Linked DNA regions of Homo sapiens: region 2 is linked to region 1. Evidence: promoter capture Hi-C in 16 types of primary human blood cells and fetal thymus (Javierre and others, 2016). All regions are on one chromosome and are shown on one strand. The core of a region is centred on a gene start or on the middle of the fragment in contact, and the rest is flanking DNA. Distances in the headings are between cores, read along the strand shown.

Region 1 (7,536 bases), core at 1,760-4,259:
GAAGCAAGAGAAAGGTGTTTCCCCTTAGAAAACCATCAGATCTCGTGAGACTTATTCACTACCACGAGAACAGTATGGGGAAACCACCCCCATGATTCAATTATCTCCCACTGGCTCCTTCCCACAACATGTGGGAATTATGGGAGCTACAATTCAAGATGAGATTTGGGTAGGGACACAGCCAAACCATATCACAGCCTGTTGCACCCATGGACAAAGGGCCCACTAAGATATTCCTGGACCCCTGATTCCTGAAAACCTTGAGATAATAAATGTATATTGTTTTAAGTAACCAAGGTTGTGATCATTTGTTATGCAGCAACAGAAAGCTAATACAATATTCAACAACAGGATGAATGTGTTATATTTCAATATTGAATCAGAATATTTCATTTCATGGTATTGAAAGAATATGGGTCAATTAAAAATGTGTCCTTACATTGGTCAACAGGTACAAAGTTACAGGTAGGGAGAAGGAGTAAGTTTTGGTGTTCTAATGCACATCAAGGTGACTACAATGAACACCAATGTATTGTGTATTTCAAAATAGCTATAAGAGAGGATTTTAAATTCTCACCACAATTAAACGACAAATACTTGAATATACTAATTAGCCTAATTTGATCATTTCATAAAGTATATATGTATGGAAATATCACATGGTGCCATATATATATACAATAATTTGTCACTAAAAAAAGAACTATAAAAGTGTCTTTAAAAATTAATTAAATGTCTGACTTTTTGTTTAACATGCTTTAGTGGTAAATTTTCTTGGATGATTTACCAGTACATTCAAAACTTGTATTATAATTCCAATCTCTGTAAAATTAAAATCATAATCAAAATAATAAATTGCTGCTTCTCTTAAGAAAATTCGGGCAAGCCAATAACGTGTCAATGTTGTTCAGTAGGGAGAATAAATATTCTCACCATGCAAAAAGTATATAATGCCAAGATTAACTGTATAAAGGTCACATCAACTGATCAAAAAATGATGTCCTTAATTACCTGTAAAATGAGTTAACCATCTCTTTTAAAACAAAAAGAAACTGATTGGAATTTCAACACAGCAACATGGTCCATCTGTAATGCTCTCAATTAAAACCCATTTTTGCATAACACACGTCCTTAGAAAAAAATAAAACTGGGCTCTCACCATTCCATTTTGAGTACACAGAGCAGGGTCAGAATAACTGCCAAAGGTGAGTCCATATCTAGAAAGGGATACTGCAGGCTAAACATGTCAGCATTCTGTACTTTGAGTCAAGCAGGGGTGTCCTCAGCAAACCACAGAGCAAATGAAATTAAATGAAGCCTGTGGATTCTACAGGTCTCAGGGCAAATGTTGGAGTCCTGATCCAAGACCCCCTATAATGTTCTCAATTTTCAGCCAGGAATGCATAAATGACCTTTGCCAGCTTCAGGGCTTTCACACATTTTGCTTTTCTGGCATTTAATGGAGCCTTATATAGACTGAAGTTCCCAGCAGGCAGTTTTCCATTTTGTGCAATTCCACTCAGCACAGAAAAGTAAGAAAGGGATATAAACTGAGACGGTTTTCTCTAGGACCAAGTATGGTAGCACTTTCCTTGACGTTTTACAAAGAAGGACAAGAAAAGGACACAAGCCAGGGTGGGGATGCCTATTTTTGCATCAAGAACAAGTGCCTTTACATATACTATATCATCTCTTTTAGAAGTCATGAAGTATTTACAAATAAGGATGATAGTTAACAGTTACTGAGTACTTACAGGGTACCTGCACTAAGTACTTGAAGGAATTACAGTAAGTCCTCACTTAGCATCATAGGTTCTTGGAAACTGCTACTTTTAAATGAGAAGACATATAATGAAACGTGGTTTTGTTATTGTTGTTGTTTTGCCTCAGCAACGTTATAAGGAAATGACATTGAGCAAAACATTAATATTAGAGGACCTGTTATATGCATTTAATTCTTTACACAACCGTATGGAAAAGGTAGTATAATCATGGTATGGGTAAGGAAACTGAGGCTTACAGAGATTAATAATTGGTGAGTTGAAGTTGAATCCCATTTATTTAAATTAAAACCCATATGCTTAACCACAATGCTTTAAAGGCTTCCCGTGTATATGCTGTATGGTCAGTGAAGGGACAAAAGGAAAGACAATCAGAATATTCCTCTTCCCAAGGACAAACCTGTGGTATTCATTATGGTAATAATAATATTTGTTTAATTGAGGTACACATGTACGGTATATTACCAATAGCAAAGTACCTTCCCAAATGTTATGTCATTTAGTTATCACAAGGGTCCTACTGGGGGTTTGGTAGAACACATAGCAATGTCATTAGGAACCTAACTTTTGGGTCAAACAGGTTTAGGCTTAAATCGTAGCCTGGAAATTTATTAGCCCCACAACCATGGGGAAATTAAGCTCTCAGTTCCCTCATCTGTGACAGGTGATAAGATACGCCTACCTCTCAGGGTAGATGACAGGATTATTTGTCAGTGAGCACATGCAATAATAAATGTTCGTGGTCTTGTTTTATGTATTATGAATCCCAATTCTCAGGAGTAAGAAGAGTTGGCACCGGCCAGAAGGTAAGAGGTTGGGCAAAGTTTCCTTTCTCCAGTAATTTTCCATGATCCCTTAGGCCCTCCAAAGGTGTAGAATGTGGGGTTTTCAAAACTCAAGTTCTCCCGCCCCCACCGGGTTCAGATGAAGGCCCATCTTCTAAACCCCCGCCTCAAGGTGATACAAAGCTTTCGGATAAACTGCCTCCAGACTTGCTTGAATTGAGCAGCAGAAACCCAGCCTGGACCCCTCTTCACCTCCCCCAAACGCTGCGTCACAAGCCCCCTGCGAATGTTCACCTGGAGCCTGGTTCCGGACAGAACCCGGCCTTGCACACAGGGAGGACGATTTCGACCCCAATTGGCTGTTGCCCTGGGTGACCAAGAACGCAGTGGGCACGCGGGAGACCACAGCCAGTATTTAAAGGCTGCCGCTGCCCTCGCCACCACAGTCCTGCCAGGACGGCGACAGTGAAGCACCTGGGTTGAGAGGGAGCAGCAGGTAACTGCGCAACCCCTGCCTCCCCCGGCCCCAGCCCGTGCCTCAGCAGAGCCGGGTGTGGTGGGGACCCGGGAGTGGGTCTCACTGCGTGTCGCCTGCCAACACCTTCCTCCCCCACCATCCTTACCCAGCCCCAGTCCCACCCAGCACACCTGGGCGAGACAACCCAGGTGCGAAGGACAAGCGATTACTACCGAAGAGCGTGCAAACCAGGAAGAGAGCAGCCTCCTGGAGAGGAAAACGTGATCCCAGGGGTAGACACGTGGCGCTGCGTGGAGAGACAGGTTGACGAGACGAGGCTCTTCTGACCGTCCTACCTGGCAAAACTTGACGACAGCTTCAGGTCGCTACCATCTGGACCTCTCGGAGCTCCCTGAACCATGACTCAGACCCTCGACACAAGGGAAGACCCTCTGAACCTGGGCGGCGGTGGCGGCGGCGGCTGTGGCTGTGGCTGGGCACACTCGGCCTCCTTGAGCTCCTGGTCGTCCTGCCATCGAAGGCGCCCGGGTGCTCCAGCGTACAATAGACCGCACCGATATAGCCCCAAGACCGAGTATGGGCCCCCAAGGAAGCAGCCGAAGCAACAGCACGGCCCGGGCTTTTGGTTCCAACCACCCGTGTGCTCTAACTGGGGGTGCTGGGGAGGGCCCTGGCGCCCACCCCCTCCAGGATTCTGGAAATTCCCCTGCCCGGTGCAAGTGTTTCGGGTGTATGGCCTGCACCCTCTCTGCTTTTGCTGCTGCTCCTGCTGGAGCGGGTCCTGGAACCCTGGCTGGGTGAAGCCCCCAGGCAGGAAGAAGCGCTGGGGCCGCAGAGGCCGCGGCCTGCGCCACCACCCTCGCCACTCCTACCCGCGGAGCCCGCCAGCGGATGTGAGCACGCTGCCGCGGCCGGTCAAGCTGTATGAGTGGAGAGAGCCTGGCATGCGAGCGCCGCCCAACACCACCCAATTCATCATGAACCAGATCTACGAGGACATGAGGCAGCAGGAGAAGGTGGAGCGTCAGCAGGAGGCGCTGCGGGCGCAGAAGGCCACGGTGAGCGGCGAGGCCTCCCCAGCCAGATCCTCCGGAAACGACGCGCCCCCTGGCGGCAGCAAGGAAACCTGGGGACTGCAGGAAACTCTGTATGGCTTTGTGCAGAATCCCTCTCTAGCATTCAGTCCCAACCCAGAGGAAAACCAGTCTCTTGCCCCGCTGCTGGTGGAAGAAGAGGAGGAGAAGAAAAATGATGATGAGGAGGAGTATGACCAGGAGGTGTGTGATGCAAAGGAGGCGAGCGAGGAGGAAGAAGAGGTCGAAGATGAGGAGGAAGAGGTCGAAGATGAGGAGGAAGAAGAGGTCGAAGAGGCTGAATATGTGGAGGAGGGAGAGGAGGAGCTGGAAGAGGAGGAGCTGGAAGAGGAAGAGGAGGTCCTGGAGGAGAACGAGCAGAGAGGGGAAGAATTTCACTTGCCTCTGGAAATGCCTTTATCAATCTTCGTAGAGGCTGAAGAAAAGAGAGAGAACTTTATAAGCTGCACTTTTTTAAACCCAGAGCAGATAATTCCCAAAGTGCCACAGGAATCCCTGTTCATGGCACAGGACTTTAACTGTTAGACATCAGAAAAGGGATTGAGAAAAGGGATGGAACTGATTTGAGGCTAAACTGGATTAGCAATTTATTAAAAACTGATTAAAAAGTGAGTTCCATTAATAAACAGATCTATGTAAACACCTTCTTTGGCCATTATAAAATGTTTAAAATTTGATGCGTATGTGTATGACTATGGGTGGGTGGTGGGGAAGCTTTCAAATATAATTTTACTGGAACTGATTAAAGGCCAAGTATTTTATTACTACCATTTGAATATTTTCATTTGGTGTTTTCCCCTCTAGAAAACAGAGTTGCTGTTGTTTTTTTAAATCTGGCAATGCTGAAAAAGCGTTTGTTTTTGAAACAAATTTATACAACTTGGCCACTTAATGAGCTTGGAATCAAGAGATAGTTTATTACATGCGTAAGAAGCACATTCTAACGCTACTAAATGTTCACCAGTGCTCTTAACATAACTGAAGCCATTTTCAATCCCTGTATTTTTTCAACAATATTTTTCCTCATAGATTTTTCCACCATCAGAGTTCATTTTTGAGGGTTATATTTTGTTAACCTCATTTGCAGGCTCTTGTGTCATCGCTTATTGATATTCCTTGTTCCACAGTGCTATGGATCTTCCTCAGAAGAACATGAAGTTGCTTCTGTGGAACTGGTTATCTGCCATGGCCTCAACAATCCATAATCCAGTCATGGAGAGGATTCCCCATGGTCAGAAGTCAACTTGCACATCTAGTTAAAGTCCAAGGTAACTGCAAACAGTGGAACATGGCTTAGGTTTTGAAGCCTCGTTATTGGATATAGTCTTTATCCTAAGTTCTGAGGAGCCATAAAAATAGTTTTCCAGAATGGATTTTTTTTTTTAGATAAAAAGATTATCTACCTTTTGGGGGTGGAATATCTTATTTTGTTTTTGAATTTGTCTTTGTTATAAAGAAGAGTAAAACAAAGATGTGTAAGTGTGAGTCTGTGTGAGCTAGTTTCTGATGTCTAAACAGCAATTACCTATGGAGAATACATCATTCAAAGTAATAGCTTTTGTTCAAACATTTTTAGGAAGTAATAATACATTTCTTCCTGGACAGTTGATAAAAGTTCCATCCATAGCATATTTCCAGAATATCCCTAGATGATGAATTTAAACATGCCTTCTCAGAAATTAAATCTTTTGACTTTGAACCACAAGTTAGCATTTATTTGTTGAAGAGAAGAATGTGTGGTGATGTCTTACCTGAATGTTGGTTGTTACTGATATATTACAATTTTCAAGGTGATAAGCTTGAGCTATTAAATAATAAAAAGTATTAAAGTACCTTGCCTCTCATTTCTCATTATTGAAATATCACAAATCCATGCAGCAATGCTTCAGTGGCCAAAAGGATGAATAGAAGAAAGGGGGAAAAAACTTAGGAATTTTAAAATTACACCAAACATTCCAAATTGCAGTGGTGAATAACCAAAACTCTAAGATATCATTACTTTCTACAAGATGCAATTTCTGAATGACCTATAAAATTAAAAGTAGCCATCCCTATGTGTTTTACTGTTCTAATATATATAAGTAGAGGGAAATCAAGAATCCAGCTCCTGAAGCTAGGTAATAAATCCATGCAAGTCATAGCCCATAAATACTTTACTGATGACACTTAATCAAAAGGTCAAAGTTAAGTATGTTCTCACTGGAGAAGCCTTTTTTCATTTAGGATTGAATTTATTTACAATCCCATCTGGACATTTCTCTATTTCTTCCTGCAAAATATTTTAAATTTAAGAATTCACCACATATTAATTGCCTTCATATGCAAAGATGTTATTCACTAGTTATTTTAAGGGATGTAAACATGTGCAATGCCTCAGGAGTCTACATTCTTGTGCATGAACCATTATTCAGCAAATATTGAACTACTGGGGGCCAAGCACTGTGAACAGTGATAAGAATACAATGGTGAATAAGCAAAACCCCATTCTGACATTGTTATTGTTTAGTAGAAAAGTCAGACATTAAATGAGTTAGATGGATTGCTCATTGCAAGTGGTCTGAAGGAAATGTACCACTATAAAAACATAGATCACTAGAGAACCCAGGAGTAAGGCTGAGGATGTTTATCGTGGGCAGAGGGACCCCTAAGTCTAAAGGCCAAGAGCTGAGAGGAGCTTGATGCCTTTGAGGAACTGAGGATAGAAAGACCAGCATGTCTGGAAGCAACGGCCAATGACAAGTGAGAGAAGTATGCAGAATCCATATTATCTATTCTATTGACTTTTATGCCATCCATATCTTCTAGAATAGACACCAGCAAAAATTAATGAGAGGAGAAAACTATTAGTCATTGATGATTCTCTACCTGACCTTCTTCTTTTTTTTTTTTTTAACTAGCCAGATACTGTGATGCTTGCTTTACTAATCCTGATGGCTAATATGAAATAATTAACCCATGTTAGGGGTTGAAGGGATTGGTCATCCCGGGACACCCACCATTCTAACCAACCACTATCATGTAATGAGGGGGATCTTAGGGTTTCTTGCTCAGCATGATTGGAGCACCATAGTTCTCAACTCCCATGGAGAGCCTCTTGCACAGTTTTAGTTTTAGAGGTATGTGTACACATGAAGAGAAAATACAATTTTCCAAAATAAATTCATTATTATTAAAATTATTTCAAACTTTATTGGGTGAGCACAGTGAGGATGAGGTGCCAGTTAGGCATTTCTTTCAAGAATGGAGCTATTCTGCCAGTTGTCAGAAAAATAACGTTATAAATCATAAAACATGATTATAGGGCCTGGACTTGATAAGCGTTGTTGCTGTCTATTCTGAGGTTTTTTTTCTCATGTGGAGATTCTGGCATTTTCATCCTCTAGAGACTGACAGCATTT
Region 2 (7,536 bases), core at 3,470-5,969, 380 kb before region 1:
AAGCATACCTTTAAAAACTGTAGGTATAAAATTGCCTTAGGCTAAGGTCACACGCAACCAGTGAATTTTCTGAGGAGTTACAGAGAAAGAACAGGGGAAACAGTGTATCATTTTTGTAAAAACTTGGTGTTACTGAACAGTGTTTTGCATAATCTTTGTGGATGCTGATTGTTCTGCATAAACAAGCGTCTCCCTAATTTAGCCAATATAAATAATTTGCGTGATGTGTTTGTTTTGTTTCCTATTTTCCCTGAAAAACATCCAGGAAAATATTACAATAGATCTTATAAACAGAAAAAAAGTTATAAATGTATTATAGAAGACAATTTTATAAGAAGGATTTCTTGACGTTTCTTACCAAGAGGTTTTACAGTAAATTAGCAGAAGTGCGCAGAGTTCATGTTTTATTTGCTCTTGCATTGACAAGTATTGCTAACCATTCTAAACTGGCTCCCAAGAAAACTTTCCAAATACAGTTTTACTTTATCTTTCTTATGTGGAGATTTAGCTCTTTTAAAAATCCTTCTTATATTTTTAAGTGGACAATAGAAAACTGAAATATAAGCCCCTTTGAAGTTTAATGAACTAAATCTGAACAGAAAAGAGTTCAGTTCTGACACTTTTACCTGCCATTGCCTTTCGCAGATGGACACATCCACATAGACATAAAAAAAAGTCTACAGCAAATACAAAAGATTTTTTCCTGTGGTGTTAAGATTAGACACAAGTTGAAACTTTTAAAGCCTATGTGAAAAGCAGTTGATGATAAGTACTTGGGGGAATCAGAAGTTAAATAATTTATTTTGCAAGCAGGTTGTTGAATTTAATGAGAGACGAAGTACCTTTAATGGGAGGTAGGAGGCTGAAGCATCCCCAGTGTGGAAGTCTGATACTTAACCTGCTCTGCTCCTCCCATATTGTCCACCTCGCTGGTTTTTGAATATGGCCAAGCATAAAACTGCTTTGGATTTTTGGCATTTGCTGCTCTCCATATCTGGAACAGCCTTATTCTATATGGCTCACTCCATCACTCTGCCTACATGTCGGTTTAAATGTCACCTTATTATTATAACTTAATTTCCAATCCTCTTATTTAAATAGCACTCCCCCTGCCCCATCAACCTATAACCCTGTTATTTGCTTTTTTTTTCTTCATAACATCTGTAACCACCTATATATGTTTTGTTCACTGTTGTATTCCCAATGTTTAGAACAGTGTCTGGAGCTCTACAGGGGCTTGATTTATATGTGCTAAATAGAAAAATAATTTGAACAATTATATCTATTATCCAGTGAAATCTTCTCAGTGTATCTCAAATACTACAGTGATACTTACTGAGTATGTTATTAGAATAAATGGAATAGGGTGGTTTTGAAGGATGTTTGACCTAGGTTTAAAACTTTTTTTATTTTTTGAAGATGTTTTTCTTCAAAAGATAATATTTCTCTCCTTATTATATAGTTCATTCTCATTGTGTAATCAAAAAATCTGCTTTAGAGAATTCTGATAAATTTTTCTTTTTAAATATTCTACTTAAGTCCTTATGATGTGTCTCGATGTCTTCATTAAGATTTCCACTTCATTTTGGAGTATAATTGTTGTTTGGGAGCCTACTGTGCTTTATAATCAATTAACATCTTAAAGCAACTATGTGGCACGGGAGCCCTCTGCCTGACACAGGTTCTGACAGACTAACTTTGTATTGGTTTTTCTAACCTTCTTGACGTATTCGGTTGTAGGTAACATCAGTTGCCATTTGTTGGGAGCTCCTCATTAGGTATGGCCTCCCTGGAGACATCCACCTGGCAGAATGAAGATAGAGAGGGAGTAGTTTGAGGTGTAAATCCTAGAGGCTTTATTGACTTCTTTTTATGTATTTACACAAAGGGAATAGGGTTTATGTCCTAAAGTGCAACTTATGGTAAAAAGCTTTCACAAAATTTTAGAGGAACTAAATCTTTCCTCACAAAATCACCATTTATAAGCCTTATGTGTTAATTGGTTCAGGCTGTTACAACAACTTGCCGTAGGCTAGATGACTTAAACAACAAACATTTATCTATCACAGTTCTGGAGGCTGGGAAGAGTCAAGGAAGCTGTCAGGTCAGTTGTTCGGTGAGGGCCTGCTGAGTGTTAACATAAAGAAGATCCATAAACTCTATTACATTATGGAGAATATTAAAACATCTTAATCTAAGCACACCCTAATCACAAACAAAGATAATCAAGGATGTTTTGTTAGTTAAGAGTTTTTGGCTTCAAGGAGCAGAGACCCACCTTTATTTCTCAATTAATGGAGGTTTTGTGCTAAGGATACATATAAAATCAGGAGAAAGAAATTTTACTGAAATAAGAAAATAAGGAATACTTGAGTTTTATGATAGCACTAATGCAGAACTGGAGGGTAATTCAACATCAAAGTCATCACAAATTCATTTTACTCCATGTTCTTACTCAAGTCCTCTCTATTCCTCTTCCCATTGCTCTTGAACCTTACCTTCCTGGGTTAAACCACACATAGTCATCATATATTACTGGATTTGACTTGCTAAAATTTGGGTAGCATATCTATCTATTTTTGCATATTTATTCATGAAAAATATTGGTATGTAATGTTCTTTTATGTTAACATTTTTGTCTGGTTTTGATATCTGTATAATTCCACTAATACATCATGACCAGGTAGTAATTATCCTGGATGTAAGGTTGTTTTAACATTCAAAAATGTATCAGATAAAATCACCATATTATAAACTGAAAGGAACAAACCAAATCAACACTATTATTAATGAGATAAAGCATTTGAAAAAAATCCAACATTCATTCCTGACAATATGTCAACAAAGTAGAAATGGCAGGTAACTTTCTCAACCTGATAAAGTTCAGATATAAAAAAATATACAACTAATATCTTGTTTAATAGTGAAAGACTTAAAGCTTTCTCCCAAGATTAGGAAAAATACAAAGGTGTCTGGTCTTATCAATTTTGTTTAACATTAAAACAGAGGCCCTAGCCAGTGCAATAAGATAAAGAAATTAAAACTAAAGGCACTCATGTCACTAAGAAATAAGTAAAACTTTATTCAAACATTTTATAAAAAATGTAATGAAATATATAAAATGATATTAGAACCTATGAGTTTGACAAACTTATAGATTATATAAAAATCAGTTATATTTCTATATGTTAGCAACCAACAATCAAAAATTAAAAATAAAAAATTGTACCATATGTATTAACAGCAAAAATATGAAGTTATTAAGGAAAAATCTGATAAAACACCAAAAAAATCTGTGCACTGAAAACTGCCTAAAATTGCAGACAGAAATTACTGAAGGTCTAAGTATACTGAGACCCATACTATACCCATGGGTCTTTAGTACTAGTTTTTGTTTTGTTTTGATTTGGCAGAAAATGAAAAAAAAATTTCTAAAATTCACAGGGAAATGCAGTAATCTAGAGAAGCCAAAACATCTTTGAAATAGAAGAACCAAGTGGGAGGACTAACACTATCTAATATCAAGACTTCTTATAATGTGATTTTAATCAAGGCAATGTTGTATTTGTACAAATATTAGAAATAGATCAATGGAATAAAACAGAGATTCCAAAAATAGAGCTACACGTATATGGACAGTGATATTCTTTAAAAGGTGTAAAAGCAGGTCAAAGGAGAAAGAATCATATTCTCATTAGATGATGTTGGAATAATCAAATAATATGCAGAAGATAAAACAAAGCAAAACACATGAAAATGTCATCATAACATAAAATCAATGTCAATTCATTATTTGAACATAACACAAAATGGATATTAGACCTAAATATGAAATTTAATACTATACAATTTCTAGAAGAGAACACAGGATTCTCTGGGCTAGGATTTACTAGATACAACATCAAGAGCATGGCCTATAATAAAGTCAGAATTCACCAAAATTAAAAATTCTGCTTTTCATAAGACACTGTTAAGGGAATAAAAAGGCAAGGTACAGTATAGGAAAAAACATTTGCAAAGCATATATATGGCAATGGATGTGTCTTCAGAATATATAAAGAACTTGTAAAACTCAACAATAAAGAAAATAAACAACCTATGTAAAAATAGGCAAAAGATTTGAATAGATTCTTCACCAAAGAACATATACTGGTATTAAATAAACATGTTAAAAGACACTCAATATCATTGGTTATTTGGGAAATACAAATTAAAATCACAATGAGATAACATTATACACTAAGTGCTGGCTAGGTTATTGAAGATCTAGAATTGCCGTTCACTCCGTTATGAATGTAAAATGGTATAACCACTTTAGAAAATAGCTTGGCAGTTTCTTAAACAGTTAGAAATAAACTTACCTATTCCATTCCTAGATTTTTAGTTAACTAAAGCATTGTTCCTATGAAAACTTTTACATGAATGTTCATATCATTTCTATTTGTGATATAATAGCTAAAAACTGGAAACAGTCCAAATGTCCACGAGCAGATAAATAGATAAACAAACCATTGTATATTTGTAAACTAGAATACTAGTCAACAATAAAAAGAAATTTATGCTACACCATATATGTAACTGTTAGTGAAACAATTATGCTGAGTGAAAGAAGCCATTGAAAATAGGACACAATGTATGGTTCTTCTATCTCTACAAAATACTAAGAAATGAAAATTAACAAAGATTGGTAAAAAGCAGATCAACGATTGCCTTCTATGGAAGGAAGGTGGACAGGAGTAAGAGAGGGATTGCAAAGGCACAAGGAAACGTCTGGAGGTGATAGATTTATTCAACATTTATTTTCTTCAACTTTCATTTTAAGTTCAGGGGTATATGTGTAGGATGTACAGGTTTGTCACATAGGTAAATGTGTGCCATGGTGGTTTGCTGCACAATATCTTCATTGTGATGGTTTCATGGGTATAAATATGTTGATATACATATATGTTTATATATCATAAATCAAATTGTACACATTAAAATGTGCAAAATTTATGTTGAGCATGTTTCAATAATTCTATTTTAAAACAAAGCAAAACAGAAAACTCCACCATAAGCACCATTATCTATGTACCTGGACCTTCTGTTCCAGGCCACCTCATAGGTGTCACTGGTTGTAAGAATTGGTTGGCACCAGGTCAAGGGCTCACTGATGAATTTATCAGCTGTGGGTAGAGTATGGTGATGTATCCATCTGTTGTCAGCTTAAAAACTTCTATTAAGTAATTGTCTTAGGCTGAAGGGAGCTGTTGGTTTGCAGGCATTCTGAGGCTGGACCTATGTAGTACACCGTCTAATATAAGAGAAAATGGAGATGTTACCAAGAATAGGGATAAAATAAGCTAGGCAACTCTGAGACATTCCTTGCCATCTGTTGCCCTTTAGGCTGGTTGATGTGTCTGGTTCAGTTGTGACCCTTTCACACTTCTCTAGCACATCCAATACTCTGGTAGTTTCAAGTTTCACAATCCACATTCCAAAAAAATTAGATGTTGCTTAGACTTTGGATTTTGGTTTGAAATATGATGCTACATTTTATCAGCCACACTTTAACATCTGGCTAAGGCTACTAATTAATACTCAAGGAAATTTATAATTGTTCAGTAGGGGAAAAAGAATGTAAGTTAACCACAAATCCTGTCAGGATTGGAGAGTGAAGAGATGCCCATGTTTCATTGCTATGTAATACTCAGATATAAGCTCTCTCTGCCTTATACAATTTAGTTGTTCTCTCCTAAAAATGTTACACAGATTGAATAGTTATGTATTTATGAAATCTAGATGTTTAGTGGGCAGATTTTAAGACAATTGCAAAAGAGGAGAATAAGAGTTAAAACAATTATAAAGTAGATATCTTACATGGTTCCATAAATACATATTTGTTAAGCATTTTCTGTGTGCCAGGCATTATATTGGAACAGCATAAACAGTAGTGAACAAAAATTAGCTTGTTTCTTTTCTTCATAGAAGTTATAGCACAGGAAATGTGTACAATTAGACGTGTAGTTCATCCCAAACTCCCGCTCCTAGATCTTTTTTTCTCTTTCCCACATGATGTGATTTGGCTGTGTGCCCACCCAAATCTCATCTTGAATTCCCACGTGTTGTGGAAGGGACCAAGTGAGGGGTGACTGAATCATGGGGGCTAGTCTTTCCCATGCTGTTCTGGTGATGGTTAAGTTTCATGAGATCTAATGGTTTTAAAAAGGGGAATTTCCCTGCACAAGCTCTCTTCTCTTGTCTGCCACCATGTGAAACGTACCTTCCACCTTCTGCCATGATTGCGAGGCCTCCCCAGCCACGTGGAACTGTAAGTGCAGTAAACCTATTTCTTTTGTAAATTGCCCAGTCTCTGATATGTCTTTATCAGTGCCATGAACGTGGGCTAATACACCATACAAATTATTCTCATTCAGTAAGTATGTACTTATATTATTAATGTTATGGAGCATCTAGAAATGAGATGATTTTGGTATAAGATCTTTTTGAAAGTAAGCTTTTCCTCCTTCTCCTCCTCCTCCTTGTCCTTTACCCTTCTTCTCCACTTTCTTTATCATTTTCTACTTTTAATTTTGAAGTAATTTCAGGTGTACAAAAATGTTGCAAGATTAGAGCAAAGCATTCCTATATACTATACCCTAACCCAGATTCTCCAAATGTTAACCTTTACCTCTCTTGCTTGCTTTATAATTCTCACTCTTCCTCCCTTCTTCTCCCTCTCCTCTTTTCCTCCCTATTTCTCTCTTCCAACCCTGGCCTTTCCATAGGTATGATTACAAATGTAGATATAAGTATAGATGCAAATATAACTGTAGTTATATATTTTTTTCCTGAAACACTTGAGAGTAAGTTACAAACATGATACTCTTTACATCTAAATACATTAGTGTACAGTTTATGTCACTTAGCCACATTACAATAAACAAAATCAAGAAACTAACATTAATAACATTACAGTCTAACTTAGAAGCCATATTCCAATTCAGCCATTTATACCACTAATATTCTAAACCAATCCAGGATCCCATGTTGCCTGTAGTTCTCATATCTTTTTATTTTCCTTTACTCTAGAACAGTCAGTTTTTCTTTGCCATTCATGACAGTTACTTTTTTTTTAAAGAATACAGACCAGTTATTTTGAACAATGTTCCTCAGTTTGGGTCTGTCTGATGTTTCCTTATTAGATTTAAGCCATGTATTTTTGGCAGGAGTACAACAGGAGTGATGTGTTTTTCTCAGTGCAGCATGTTGTCTTTAGTGAAACAGTAATTTAACTGTCCATTTGGTAAAGGTGGTGTCAGCCAATTTTCTTTAATGTAAAGTTACCATTTTTGTCTTTGTAATGAATAACTATCTTGTTGTGAGCTACTTTGAGATTATATAATCATCCTGTTTCTCACTATACTTTTATGCAATAATTCTTTGATGAGTCTTGCCTGAAATAATTATTACTAGCATGGTTTCCAAATAGTGATTTTTCTATTTCTATCGTTCGTTCTACCTTTGTTAGTTGGAATTTTATTGTAAAGAAGAGTT

What was found. The method cuts DNA at HindIII sites, captures the fragments that hold promoters and counts their contacts. A CHiCAGO score of 5 or more calls a contact.
Region 2: a contact is called between a fragment that was not itself captured here and the fragment with the promoter of CCER1 in region 1, in 3 of 17 cell types (M2 macrophages, megakaryocytes and M1 macrophages). The highest score is 7.7, in M2 macrophages.

What each region holds. Positions count from the first base shown.
Region 1 is chr12:90,950,649-90,958,184 of GRCh38, reverse strand. It overlaps CCER1 (coiled-coil glutamate rich protein 1), which reads left to right and starts at 3,009. Exons shown (of 1, transcript NM_152638.4): 1 at 3,009-5,970. The coding sequence starts at 3,443. The coding sequence ends at 4,663. RefSeq lists an enhancer at 4,001-4,100. The HindIII fragment of the contact is 2,103 bases long and covers 2,752-4,854 here.
Region 2 is chr12:91,333,814-91,341,349 of GRCh38, reverse strand. It overlaps LINC02823 (long intergenic non-protein coding RNA 2823), which reads right to left. Exons shown (of 4, transcript NR_183611.1): 2 at 1,718-1,803. The region is part of intron 8 of LOC105369896 (a long non-coding RNA gene); the gene reads left to right. Among named protein-coding and RNA genes, the nearest start is that of LINC02823, 11 kb to the right of the region's middle. The HindIII fragment of the contact is 3,558 bases long and covers 2,941-6,498 here.